2 separate regions of the Homo sapiens genome follow, and region 2 is linked to region 1. Evidence: promoter capture Hi-C in 16 types of primary human blood cells and fetal thymus (Javierre and others, 2016). All regions are on one chromosome and are shown on one strand. The core of a region is centred on a gene start or on the middle of the fragment in contact, and the rest is flanking DNA. Distances in the headings are between cores, read along the strand shown.

Evidence for each region. The method cuts DNA at HindIII sites, captures the fragments that hold promoters and counts their contacts. A CHiCAGO score of 5 or more calls a contact.
Region 2: a contact is called between the fragment with the promoter of LTN1 here and the fragment with the promoter of C21orf91 in region 1, in 2 of 17 cell types (total B cells and fetal thymus). The highest score is 6.1, in total B cells.

The regions. Positions count from the first base shown.
Region 1 is chr21:17,813,955-17,820,689 of GRCh38, forward strand. C21orf91 (chromosome 21 open reading frame 91) reads right to left here and starts at 5,402. Exons shown (of 5, transcript NM_001100420.2): 1 at 5,349-5,402; 2 at 4,238-4,371. The coding sequence starts at 4,364. All of the region lies in intron 2 of LOC124900465 (a long non-coding RNA gene), which reads left to right. RefSeq lists a silencer at 5,017-5,796 and an enhancer at 6,047-6,096. The HindIII fragment of the contact is 2,618 bases long and covers 4,849-6,735 here.
Region 2 is chr21:28,989,985-28,996,117 of GRCh38, forward strand. It overlaps LTN1 (listerin E3 ubiquitin protein ligase 1), which reads right to left and starts at 2,893. Exons shown (of 30, transcript NM_015565.3): 1 at 2,780-2,893. The coding sequence starts at 2,821. LOC105372766 (a long non-coding RNA gene) reads left to right here and starts at 3,119. Exons shown (of 3, transcript XR_007067835.1): 1 at 3,119-3,147; 2 at 3,586-3,697; 3 at 3,798-4,197. RefSeq lists enhancers at 2,698-2,807, 3,118-3,177. The HindIII fragment of the contact is 7,723 bases long and covers 1-4,047 here.

The DNA.
Region 1 (6,735 bases), core at 4,152-6,651:
TTTAATAAAATGAAGAAAGGAAAAAAAGCTAAACAAAGCTAAGCTAGCTTAAAAAAAAAAGGTTTTTTTTCCTCTATGGAAAAGAAAGCAAGCCAATTATAGGAAGAGAGAAATGCTCTAAGAATTATTTGTACACTATTTTGGCACAAGATGAAAACTGATAGTATGAACCAACAGTATTGAAACCCTGGATCTCTTCCTGCTTAGGTCTCACTTTGGGCTTTGTTACCTTACAGTTGAGTTTCATTACTAGCTCCTGACCACCCTGGGCTGCCTTCCTCTTTGCCATTCCTTAGGGAATGGTAGTGAGTTGGTCATTAAATATCTTTAGAGATTTTAGCAGTTTGAACTATGATGCATATTAGAGTATTTGATCACTAATATGTATGAAAAAGTTCATAGTGTCTTAGGGTCAAGGCTGTAAGTATTTAGGAAGTTTATGCACCTGTCTTCTAATCTGAGAAGCAGACAATTTATTTTAATGGTGAATTAGTCCATTCTTGCACTGCTATAAAGAAATACCTGAGACAGGGTAATTTATAAAGAAAAGGGGTTTAACTGGCTCACAATTCCGCAGGCTGTACAAGAAGCATGGTAGCATCAGCCTCTGCGGAGGCCTCAGGGAACTCACAATCAGGGCAGAAGGCAAAGAGGGAGCCAGCACCTCAACTGACTAGAGTAGGAGGAAGAGAGTGAGGGGGGGAGGTGCTACACACTTTTAAACAACCAGATCTCATGATAACTCACTCACTGACTATCATGAGAACAGCACTGAGGGGATGGTGCTAACCCATTCATGTGAATTCCGCCTCCATGATCCGATCACCTAATACCAGTCTCTGCCTAGAACACTGGGGATTACATTTCAACATGAGATTTAGGTGGGGACACAGATCCAAACCATATCAAATGGTGAAGCATAGGTTAAAAAAAAATCAACCTTGTGAACATTAAAAAATATCTGAGTCCTCAAAGTGTGTTTCTCAGGTCCTTAAAGCATATCACCTGTGGCTTGGAAGTACATAAAATGTAGGCTCCTCTTTCTTTTTCATTATTGTAAAGTCAGAGAAAAAGCCAACTTAGAGCCATGCCCACAGTACAAAATCTGTTCAACAAGATTAGATTGTCTTTTGTTATTTCTTCCTTCCTTTGTCTTCATTTTATAAACGTATGCATGCACACAGCTTTTAAACAAGAGGCTAATTGATTAGGAAACCAGTGTTGATTTGATGTAAGCAACAATCCAAAAAGTAGAAAATATTATTATTGTTTACTACAAATGTATGGACTCAAAACTAGCTTAACTGTTATTATTCCTCAAGAGAATTTATTTTTACTCAGCCTCTTCTCGGAGAAGAGTGCTTTAGACCAAAGCTAGCAATTATAAAGCTAAGAAATCAGGCAACTGCAATACTACCAAACTACAAAAAATTTACACTAAACTAGTAAAGTTAAATGTCATTTTTAAAAAGCCCCTCTTACATTCTAGTCTATTGACAGGCATTGTGTTGGGAACTTGGTAGAGGAAAGAAAACTTCAAAAATATTTTAAAAGATTTACCGACAACAAATATACCTTGTTATTTTTCTAGTATGTAATTATTATTATGACTTTTTTCCCCCACTGATTTCTAAAGACCCGTATACTGATATAAAAACTAAAATTTTGTGCAATTCAAGATCCTCATTTCCCTCCTCTTTTCTAAAATAATTTTTTTTTTTTTGAGACAGAGTTTTGCTCTTGATGCCCAGGATGGAGTGCGATGGCACAATCTCAGCTCACTGCAACCTCCACCTCCTGGGTTCAAGCGATTCTCTTGCCTCAGCCTCCTGAGTAGCTGAGATTACAGGCATGTGCCACCATGCCTGGTTAATTTTGTATTTTTAGTAGAGACGGGGTTTCTCCATGTTGGTCAGGCTGGTACCGAACTCCCAACCTCAGGTGATCCGCCTGCCTTGGCCTCCCAAAATGTTGGGATTACAGGCATGAGCTACTGTGCCGGCCTACAAAAATCTTAAACAAAAAAGTTGTAATACACTAGCTGATCACTGTAGTGAAAATGAAAATGCGTATTTGTGAGAGCTGAGAAATGACACCAGATAGAGAAGAAATTATTTGACTCTAATTTTTCTTACAAAGATTAAATTGGGATTTTAATATATAAAACCTTGAATATACATAGAATATTAAACGAAATAGTTCTAATTCAAATTGAGAATTGTCTTTTACACTGAAGGGAACTATGATTTCAAAAACAAAGGACTTATTCCATGCTTACATGCTGAGATATTATCAGAGCTGAAATGTTAAGAGATGGTACCTAAGGTAATATTTGTATATTCTCTATATAATGACTGAGAACCAGTTAAAAGGCTTATTTTAAAAAGCTAGAAAAGCAATTACGAAAATTTAGGGTTCTGTGGAAAAATTCGATCATGGCATGAACTCCATTAATGATGATTTGCCAGCAAACACTGGTTAGAAAAAGCTGGCTGAGAGAATAGCAAGGATAACCAATTAGGATTAGAACATCAGCCCTATTGCTATAAAATAACTATTGACAGTAGATCAATGGTATTAAGATCACATATACTAGAACCAGACTGCCAGGCTTTAAAGTCCAGGACCAACAGTTATGAGCTGTGTGACTTCAAACTGTATTTCTTAGGTCGCCAAGGTTCAGTTCTATCACATTTAAAATAGAAAATGACAGTAGTCATTCCAAAGCTATCTTGAGTTAAATAAGATAATCCACATAAGGGGTTTAGCACAGTGCCTGGCACATAACAACAGCTTGCCATCACCACTACAGCAACCCTGGGCAGTCCAACTTTTTGGCTGTTTCCTTAAATGTAAAATACAGGGTTTGGACTAGATAATTTCTAATGTCTTTACTCATCTAAAATTAAAATTCTACAATGTATCAACAATATACAAGCCAACTCTATTTCCAAAGAACATAAATTTGGATTTTCACCCCAGCATGATTTAAGTACTGTAAAAGAAACTTATTTTTAAGATATCCTTTTATTTTTATTTAATTTTTTAGAGATGGGGTCTTGCTATGTTGCCCAAACTGGACTTGAACTCCTAGGCTCAAGCAATCCTCTCACCTTAACCTCTGGAGTAGCTGAGATTGTAGGAACACACCACTGTTCCTGTTATGTCATCTTTTGAAATTAGCTATAATCACTACATTTATTAAAGCTGAAGTTATAGATATTCTATGTAATCCACAAGAAATCCATAATCTTCCATCACATACTGTTTGGTGACCATAATAATTTCTGAATAACAAGTCCTAACAGGAATTTCAAGGTATATAATCCCCCACTATATTTTTTTAAACAATAAGAACATTTCATACCCCATACTTAGTAAACAGAAAATAAAGATCATGAAAAATTTCAAATATATAATACAGAAAAAAGGAAAGAACTATTTTGAAACTGTCCAAAATCTAGAGGTTTAATAAAGTCTCTCTACTGATATGTTACAACTCAAAACTCAAATTACAGGCCAAATTTTTTTTGCAGGAATATTAAGGTTTTTTTTAGTATGACTCATAAATATCTAAACCAAAAATCAATTGTAATATGACAACACTAACTGCACCAACCCAAATAAATCCTTCCAATAGGGCTTTTTTTTGGGGTTTCTTTTTGGATTTGGAGAATTTTTCTTCATATATCTTAGGGACATTATTAAAAAAATTTTAAAAACCTTTTCAGGTTTTAAAAATTACCAACAGTGTGTGTGATCACTGAAAAGAGGTTAATCTAAAAATTTTAAAGTATTTTTCCAGATAATAAGATCATACTGGTGAGAAAAGAGTTCGGGCTCATCTCACTCAAATACTTGCATAATAGGCTCGAAAGAATAAAAAAATTGTTATGTTACTTCTTAATATAAAAAACACACAGGTCTGTTAAAATCTGACAATTCAATAAGCTCTCAAACCAGAAAACACGTTTCCCAGTCAACACTCATACTTATTTCTGTATTAGGAAAAATGGGGTTGTTGCAGGGGTCTTTAAAAAAAAAAGATTTCTCTTAAATTCGTAACTCTGTTAACTGCACCTTCATTTCCAGAAACCTTATCTTTAACAAATCTCTACACTATTCATACTTAGCACAATTTCCAATCATTGAAGACATTTTAGTTTTACCTTACAATCAGTACAAAGCAGCTGTGTTAAATTCATTCCATAAGATCAAAACTATACTGTGTCCTTACCCTCAATATTTAGCTCAAAACAAATGTGGCAGAAGGAGAGTGTTTCTTTGTCTGTTCCCAGTTTACAAACACTGCAAATGTTGTCATCATTCAAATCAATGTTTACAAACTGCTCCTCTTCGTTCATAGTGCCCCTATTAAGAAACAGAAAAGGAAAGTTACACAATTTCATGAACCTGCCTTTGGGGTAGTTCCCTTTACTGGGAACTTCTAGGAAATAAGGATGCTGTTCAGCTCATTTAAAGCAAAAGCTCCATCAAACAAGCATCGCCATACTTGCACTCCAACATTGCACTTTTCCTGTGGAAAGACACAAAGCTAGTAAAACTTAAAGCCAGGCCATAGGTGACACTATGTCCGTGTCTTTTTTGTCCTATAGTTGATTGGGTTAGTGGCACCTGAAGGAAAGAGATTTGCCGGCATTCTAGTCCTCCTCCTTCGTCCCCCAACCTCGAATAATCAGAGGGCTTAGCAGCGAGGCCTTTTCAGCTACCAGGTTCTGTCAACCTAGTTAACGCTGTGAGAAACAGGAAAAACGACCTGCACGGGACACTGCTTTGCTAACTTCATTGGGGGAACCTCAGATGCGCCTCGCGAACTCGGAGTTGCGAAGCTTCGCATCGAACGGAGATCGGCGGCAGCAAAATGCACGTGGGTACCGAATACCCGGGGAGGGCGTCCCGCCGTGTCCGGGGCAACTACACCGAAGGCCGAGCGGCGGCTTCACGGTACCGGCCGGGCACCGCCGGAGGGGCCCAAGCCGGAGCTGGGAGAGCCGCGGCATCCTGGAGCCCGGCGGGCGGGAGAGCCTCGTCCCATCGCTCCGGGATTCCTCCCAGAGGGAAGAAAGCGTCCGAGGGCCACGGCGGCCGGTCCGCCCAGCCTCAGCGTCTCGGGGAGCCGGGTCCTGGCCCGGCCTTCGGCGTTGGGGGCGCGCGGCCGCCCCCAGGGAGTCGCGGACCCAAGTCCGTCTTTCCGTCGGTCTGTCCGTCGGGGCGCCTGGCGCGCAGCAGCGCGAGGGGCCACGGGGCTCGGAACTCGAAGGAGGCGGAACGATGGGACTGGGGGTCGGGGCTCAGGTGGGATGGGAGCAGGGCTGCGGGGTCTTTACCGTCCGGCTCCGCGGGCCACCACCGCCGTTCCGTGCGGCTCGGGTTCCTCCACTATTGTTTCCGGCCGCAGCAGAGGCGGCCGCCGCGCGCCTGGCCCCGCCCTCTCCCGCCGGCTCCATCCCGTAAAGGCTGCGGGGAGGGTGGCGCGGCCGCGGGCACACCTGCGCGCTCGCCGGGCTGCTGTGGGTCCGCCCCTCCGCTCCTGCACCGACGCCGCACCTTCGCCTCGAGTTCTCCTGTGATCCCGTGTTTCCTGGCCGGAGTTTCTTACCGTTCTCTGGAACGTAGCTCCTCACACACCCCTCCTCGAGGTGCGTAGATAGACGAATCCGTTCCACCTCTCCCTTCAGCCTAGTGCAAACTACTGCCCCGGGGCGGGGGCCGCAGGCGGCGGGGGTAGGAAAGCCGCGGGTGGATGGCAGAACGGGAGAGGTGCGTGGGTGGCACTTTGACTTCAGGAGAAAGAAGCAGAATACTGTCACTGAACTTATAGTTAAGTGCCAGTTGAAGTATCTAACGAAGGAAAAGTTCATATTCAGGTGTCATGATAGAGGCATAATTTCAAATACAGAATCTTTTCAAATACATTATTTGTTGTGGGGCGCCCCTGCCCCCAATATGGTACATCCCTCAACGCCCACGGGAAAAATCCCGAAGCCCCACCTCTTATTTTTAGGTCCTGCTTGGTTCTCAAATTCTTTGCTTGACTTTTGTTTAAGCTATTCTGTTTTTTTTAGGGTATGGTTCTTGCAGTACTTTCACTTACATTTTCCATTGTAGTCCTCACAGTAACCTACAGAGGAGAAACAGGAACTGTTCTCTCATGTTGCAGCCTACGAGTAATTGACCCAGGTTATCACAGTTGGTTAGAAAAAGGCTGGGACTTGAACCGAAGGCTACTGACCTAAGATCAATGTTATTTTCTACAGCATCATATGTATGTGTTCTGGTTGCACTCACATAGAAAGAGGGCTAGCCTGTCAATCTACATGTAGGCATTCTTGAACTGATGGTTAGGAATGGACTGTCTAGATCTTGGAAACTTCTGGGCCAAATTAGCACTCCAGTTATGGCATTTGTGCCTCGCAGGAGCGATCTGTGTCCTTGCCACCTAAATTGTAGTAGATGAACAAACAACATTGACATTACTTGGTTTCCTGTTAGAAATGTAGAATCTCAGGCCCCACTCGAGATTTCCTAAATCAATACTTGCACTTTAACAAGACCGCCAGGAGATTCCTATGTTCATCGAAGTTTGAGATGCACTAATTGAAATGAAAAGCCTGTGCTTTTTCTCTTCGAATTTCTCATTCTAGGTAACTACGACTAAGATACCTTGCATGTTGGATTCTACCCATCTTTTCAATAAAAAGCATTCTTTTAAAA
Region 2 (6,133 bases), core at 1,643-4,142, about 11 Mb after region 1:
AAAAAAAAGTTATCTATGTGATGGCCTTTCACAATTTGATCTTTATATAACCTTTTTTCTCTACCTGAAAACGCTTCCTTTCTTTTCACTGTCTGACAAACTCCTACTCATCTTTCAAACTCATGTTTGCAACACTTGCCTTCCTCCATTCTCTTCCATTCTCCCACATTCTTTCTTCTAATACCTGCATCATAATTCTTTAACATTTGCTTACATATGTGTCTGTATCATCAAACTAATAGTTCAAGAACAGCAGACATCTATTATCTCTGAATACCTGACATCCAGTATCAGAGTCTTCTATTGAAGACTTTGCCACATTAAAGTTAAAATCCCAACTCCACAACTTCCTGGCTACATGAGCTTAGGCAAGCTAATTTCTCTAAACCTCAGTTTCACCACATTTAAAATGAGATATGAGTAATTAATTCATTAGTTGGGTTGTTTTCATGATTAAGCATAAGTTTTTAAATCACCATAGTAATAACTGATTCCAGCAAGAATCAAAGGGTGCTCAAACCATTAGGTGAAAGTTTGTGGAAGAGCAGGACATTCACAGTTTCAAACTAACATATTATTTGTTATTGGCCAATGGAAAAATATAACTTTATAATGAACAACACCTTAACCAAGTAATTAAACAAATACCACCAATAAGGGGACAAACAGGTGCGAAGTGCCCCTGGTGTGTGATGCACTGAGAAAGACTCATCATCTATGAAGAATTCCTTCTAAAAATTGTTTAGCCTGAATCTAATCATAAGGAAAAAACTAGATGAATCTGAATTAATCAAACAAATGGCCCAGGCTCTTCCAAATTTTGTTAAAAAAGACACTCCTCTCCCCGCTTAAACAGTACTGAGAAACTGTCTAGATCAAAGAAACCCAAATGGTAACTAAATGGAATGAGTGATCCTTGACTGAATCTCAGATGTTAAAACGGTTTATCTTTTTAAAAAAGTCCCAGCCTGGGCAACATGGCAAAACTCTGTCCCTACAAAAATAAGCTAGCCGTGATGGCCTGTACCTGTAGTCCTAGCTACTGGAAAGGCTAAGCTGGGAGGATCACTTGAACCCGAGAGGCGGAGATTGCAGTGAGCCAAGTTCACGCCTCTGCACTCCAGCCTGGGTAACAGAGCCAGACTCTGTCCCCGAAAAAAAAAAAAAAAAGATTAGCCAGGAGTCCTAGCTACTAAGGAGGCTGAGGTGGGAGGACTGACCGCTTGAGCCCAAGAGGTTGACACTGCAGTGGGCCATGATCATACCACCACACTCCAGGTTTGGAGACAGAGCGACCCTGTCTTACAAAAAAAAAAAAAAGAAAAAAGAGAACATTATTGGGATAACTACAGAAGTCTAAATACAAGGCTGTATCCTGGATTACAGTATTATACAAAAGTCAAAGTTTCTGCATACTATAACCATTATTATAATTGCTGCAGGCTAGAAAATGGCATTGTTTTTAGAAGATACATGCTGATGTATTTAGGAGTTAAGAGTCCCGACTTCTGCAACTAACTCTTATAAGTTCAGAAAAATACATAAATTAAGAGAGAGAAAGCAAATGCAACCAAGTATTAGCAATTGGTAAATGTAGGTAAAGAGTATATGGGATGTCGTTCTAATATTCTTGCAACTTTTCCTCATAAGAACTTTTCAAATATAAAACATTTGAGAAAATCTGTTAAATAAAAAACATTAAAAGATGCAAGTAAAGTGCTTAGCACAGTAACACAACAGGTTGCTATAATTGTTAATACTGTTATTATCTTCCAAAACAGATTAAGTGACAGATCTAAGAAAATGTGACATTGAAATCACTAGAATTAACTACATCAGAAACAGGAAAAAAAAGCATTCTCATAAAATTGGACTGTGCTATAATAAATCTAACACCATAAAAAAATACCATTACAAAACCCCTCATCGTGTAGTTTTACACGAATCCACTTTAAGGTCGTCCTTAAGCAAGTACTTAGTGAGCGTCTATTAGGTGCCAGTCTGTTCTAGGTTCCGAGGATAAAAACATTTGCTTTCAAAATACTTACGTCCTAGTGAACCAAGACAATAAATGTCATAAATACAATGGAGTAAAATAAAGTAGGAAGAACATGGGAGTGGGGAAGGGCTACCAAGAGGGTGATCATGGGAGACCTCACTGAGGTGTCGAGAGCAAAGTTTGGAGCCACCTAACTGAAGAGCGTTGGGAGCCGGCCAGGTAGTCAAGGCACAGTGAAGAGATCAGTGTGGCTGGATGAAGTAAGCCAAGAGGAGGGAGCTGAAGATGGGACTGCAGATGGAAAGGGGTAACAGGCAGTCCAGAAACCAAATATACCATCCTAAGAGCTTTAGCTTAGGAGAAGCCACTGTAGGTAGCAAAGGAGAGGCACAATCTGCGGTAACCTCCACAGTGGATTCACTTTAACATTCTCCCAACTCTCCTTCTTCCCAGCGCCGCCCTCCCCCAACCAACCCGCTACCTCGGCCAGATCACCTTCCAGTGAACCTGACACATTATCATTTCTTCATGAATATTATGGGTGTGTGCTCGGATGAGGACAGCTCTGGCATGGTACATCTTTTCTCTCACGATTCCCCAATCTGCTCAGAGATAACACAAACCGCTCTCAGGGACGCACACACAACAGAGAGGTCACACTCGACAGGGAAACACACGCCTCCCTACAGCCGCGCTCCACACACCCTCCAGCAACGCGCTGGGCGGAGCCAGCCGCCTCGAAGCGAGGCTCCCGGGTCGGCCGAGCCAGCCCCCGCTCACCCTCAGGTTCCCTTTAGTTCGCTGCTTGTTCTTCCCGCCCATGGTCGCGGTTGCAGCTGTACTCTGAGCACTCAGACCCCGGTTGACACGTCCGGGACACAACTTCCGGCTTCTGGCGGCGGAAGAGGACACCCTGTAATAACTTCCCCCGGGCCCTTTTCCGCCACCCACCCTGTCCATTTGCTGCCCCACTTCCGCTCCCGCCTCCCGCTGTGTCCCTGACCATCCGCCACCGGAGACGTCACAGCTAAAGCCACGCCTGTCTGAGTGATGTCATTCCTGGCCAATAGGAAGCCAAGCATTGGACCCGTGGCGCCAAATCCTGTCCTCCCCGCTTTCAGAAGCTAGGTTTGTTCCTTGCTTAGAGGGTAGGAAACTGGCGTGAATCATCAGAGGGGCAGTTTCACATAAGGGTAGCATTAGAATGTTATGGTAGAGGCTGTGGGAAGATGGGAGTGTTTTAGACTTCCAACATGATGCAATCATCAGTATCACCTGGGCGTTTTTTAGAAAAGGCCAACTCGGGCCCCTCAGAACTCCTGAATCAGATCCTGCATTTTGACAGTATTCCCAAGTCTTGTTAAAATTTGATTACTGCTGTAGGCACTATTCTCTCTAAATCTCCCCTCCCCGTCCCCTTTTATTCATATTGAAACTGTTAACGTGCAGTTTAGGAAAGAGGATAATGTGGGAGTCCCTATTAAAATTTGAAATGTACAAATCCTGTAACCCATTGATTGTGCGACTCAGAATCACACCAGAGAAACAAGTAAATGTGTGCTGGTTATTGTTTCTTGTCCACGCAGTCACCCTTTTATACTCAACTCCATGTTACTGGGGGGGCTTCTGCTAGATTCCACCAACAGGACGAACAAGAGGGAAACAAAGGCAAGAGGAAGAAGGGACTTGCTCCATTCTGTAAGCATCATGCCAGCAGCAGCTGCATTTTACCGTGGCAGGAGCAATTGCTTTAGCCAAAAGGTGGTTTTAATCTCTATCCTTTTTCCAACAATCACAGAATCAGCCTTATTGCACCCCTCAGAGATCACAGCAGCAGTCAGTGCTCTCCTCAGAGATCTGAATTCTACTTTCATGCGGCCCCTCCCCTGAGCTCCTGAGATAGCCAATGTTTGAGCCACCTCCTCAGAAGTTTGAGCCTCAACACCGTGGGATCCCTTCTTTGTGCTCCAGAGATCCAGTAACAGCCAGCCATCACCCTCTCTTCATTCTTCATAGGCCTGAACTAAGGTGTTCAGGGCCCTCCTTCAAGCTTTTAGGTTCTGATGACTCCAACCACTTCTTTTGTTCCATCCTTTCCTAGCTCTAGGAATGGTAGCTGCTACCTGCAGTGATTACCTGTTACCTTTTATAATTCCTTTTGACCAATTTCCCATATTAAAATATTTCTCAATAACTAATGTGATTTCTGTTTTCCTGACTGGACCCTGATTTTAAAATGCACACAAAAGCCAGGTGCAGTGGCTTATGCCTGTAATCCCACCACTGTGGGAGGCCGAGGCAGGTGGATCACCTGAAGTCAGGAGTTCGAGACCAGCCTGGCCAACATGGCAAAAACCCATCGCTACTAAAAATACGAAAATTAGCTGGGCAGTGGTGGCAGGTGCCTGCAATCCCAGCTACTTGGAAGGCTGAGGCACGAGAATCTCTTGAACCCGGGAGGCGAAGGTTGCAGTAAGCCAAGATCATGCCACTGCACTCCAGCCTGGGTGACAGAGCAGACTGTCTCAGAAAAAAGTCACACAAAGAGACATATTACAGGAGGTTCACAAAAACTTTATAATAGAAAGATAATTGTAAGCAACCTATGTCTATATATTGGAGAACTGCTAAATAAATTATATGTATTCAATAAGCTATTAGGCAACATTTAAGAAGAATAAGGTTTATCTGAACACACATAGGAAGAATTCTAAGACACATTCTTAAATAAAAAGCAAATACCAATATATACAGTATGATACCATTTGTGTTTTTAAAACCCACAACACAATAATATATATATATATATATTTATGCATATATATATAATATAAATACAGAGAATAGGCCGGGTGCGGTGGCTCACGCCTGTAATCCCAACACTTGGGGAGGCCGAGGTGGGTGGATTGCTTGAGGTCAGGAGTTTGAGACAAGCCTGACCAACATGGTGAAACGCCGTTGCTACTAAAATACAAAAATTAGCTGGGCATGGTGGCAGGCAGCCGTAATCCCAGCTACTAGGGAGGCTGAGGCAGGAGAATTGCTTGAACCCAGGAGGTGGAGGTTGCAGTGAGCCAAGATCGCGCCTCTGCACTTCAGCCTGGGTGACAAAGTGAGACTCCGTCTCAAAAAAAAATAATAATAAAATAAAGATCTGCAAGAATACATACCAGTCTGATCATTGTAGTGACTTTTTGTGGGAAAAAGTGGCAAGAAAAGACATTAGGGTTAAGAGTTATAGTCAAAGGAAATTAAGCCTTATCTGTAAGATTTTATTTTATACAAGGACAACATCTTCATGTATTAATTATGTAATTAAAAATCAACTCAGGCTGGGTGCAGTGACCGATGCCTATAATCCCAGCACTTTGGGAAGCCAAGGTGGGTGGATCACCTGAGATCAGGAATTCAAGACCAGCCTGGCCACGATGGTGAAACCTCGTCTCTACCAAAAATACAAAAACTAGCTAGGCACGGTGGCACGCACCTGTAACCCCAGCTATGTGGGAGGCTGAGGCAGGAGAATTGCTTGAACCCAGGAGGCAGAGGTTGCAGTGAGCCAAGATCGCGCCACTGCACCCCAGCCTGGGCAACAGAACAAGACTCCGTCTCAAAAAAAAAAAAAAAAAATCAACTCAACAAATATTGTTTGTTTAAAATAAATCATTGGTTACATATATCATGGTACATTGGTTATACAAATTGTAGTGTCCTCATTCTTGAGAGTTATACAATATAGCTGCAAACAGTTTAACACATTGGAAACACTACTAGATATCATGCCATTCACTGAAAATGTGGGTGTCACATATCAAAAATGCTACAGAAGGGGAAGATTAACATGTGCTTGAGTAGTCAGATAGGCTTTCCAAGCCAAAGCCCAAAGCTTGGAAAACATTAGGAAAAGTAAAATAAAAGGGAGAACATTCAAAATGGGGACGAGAGAGGGACAGAGACAGTGAGTTGGATTAGCATGGATTTCGGAAAGGACAGTCAAGAATCTAGCCTAACTTCAGTGCAGACTTACCCAGGGGGAAAAAAAAAAAAAAAACTTGAAGGACAAGACTGGAATGATTTTCTGTGCTCCTATTTACTAATTGTTTCCTAAATTTTGTCTGTTCTTGCTGGAAATAT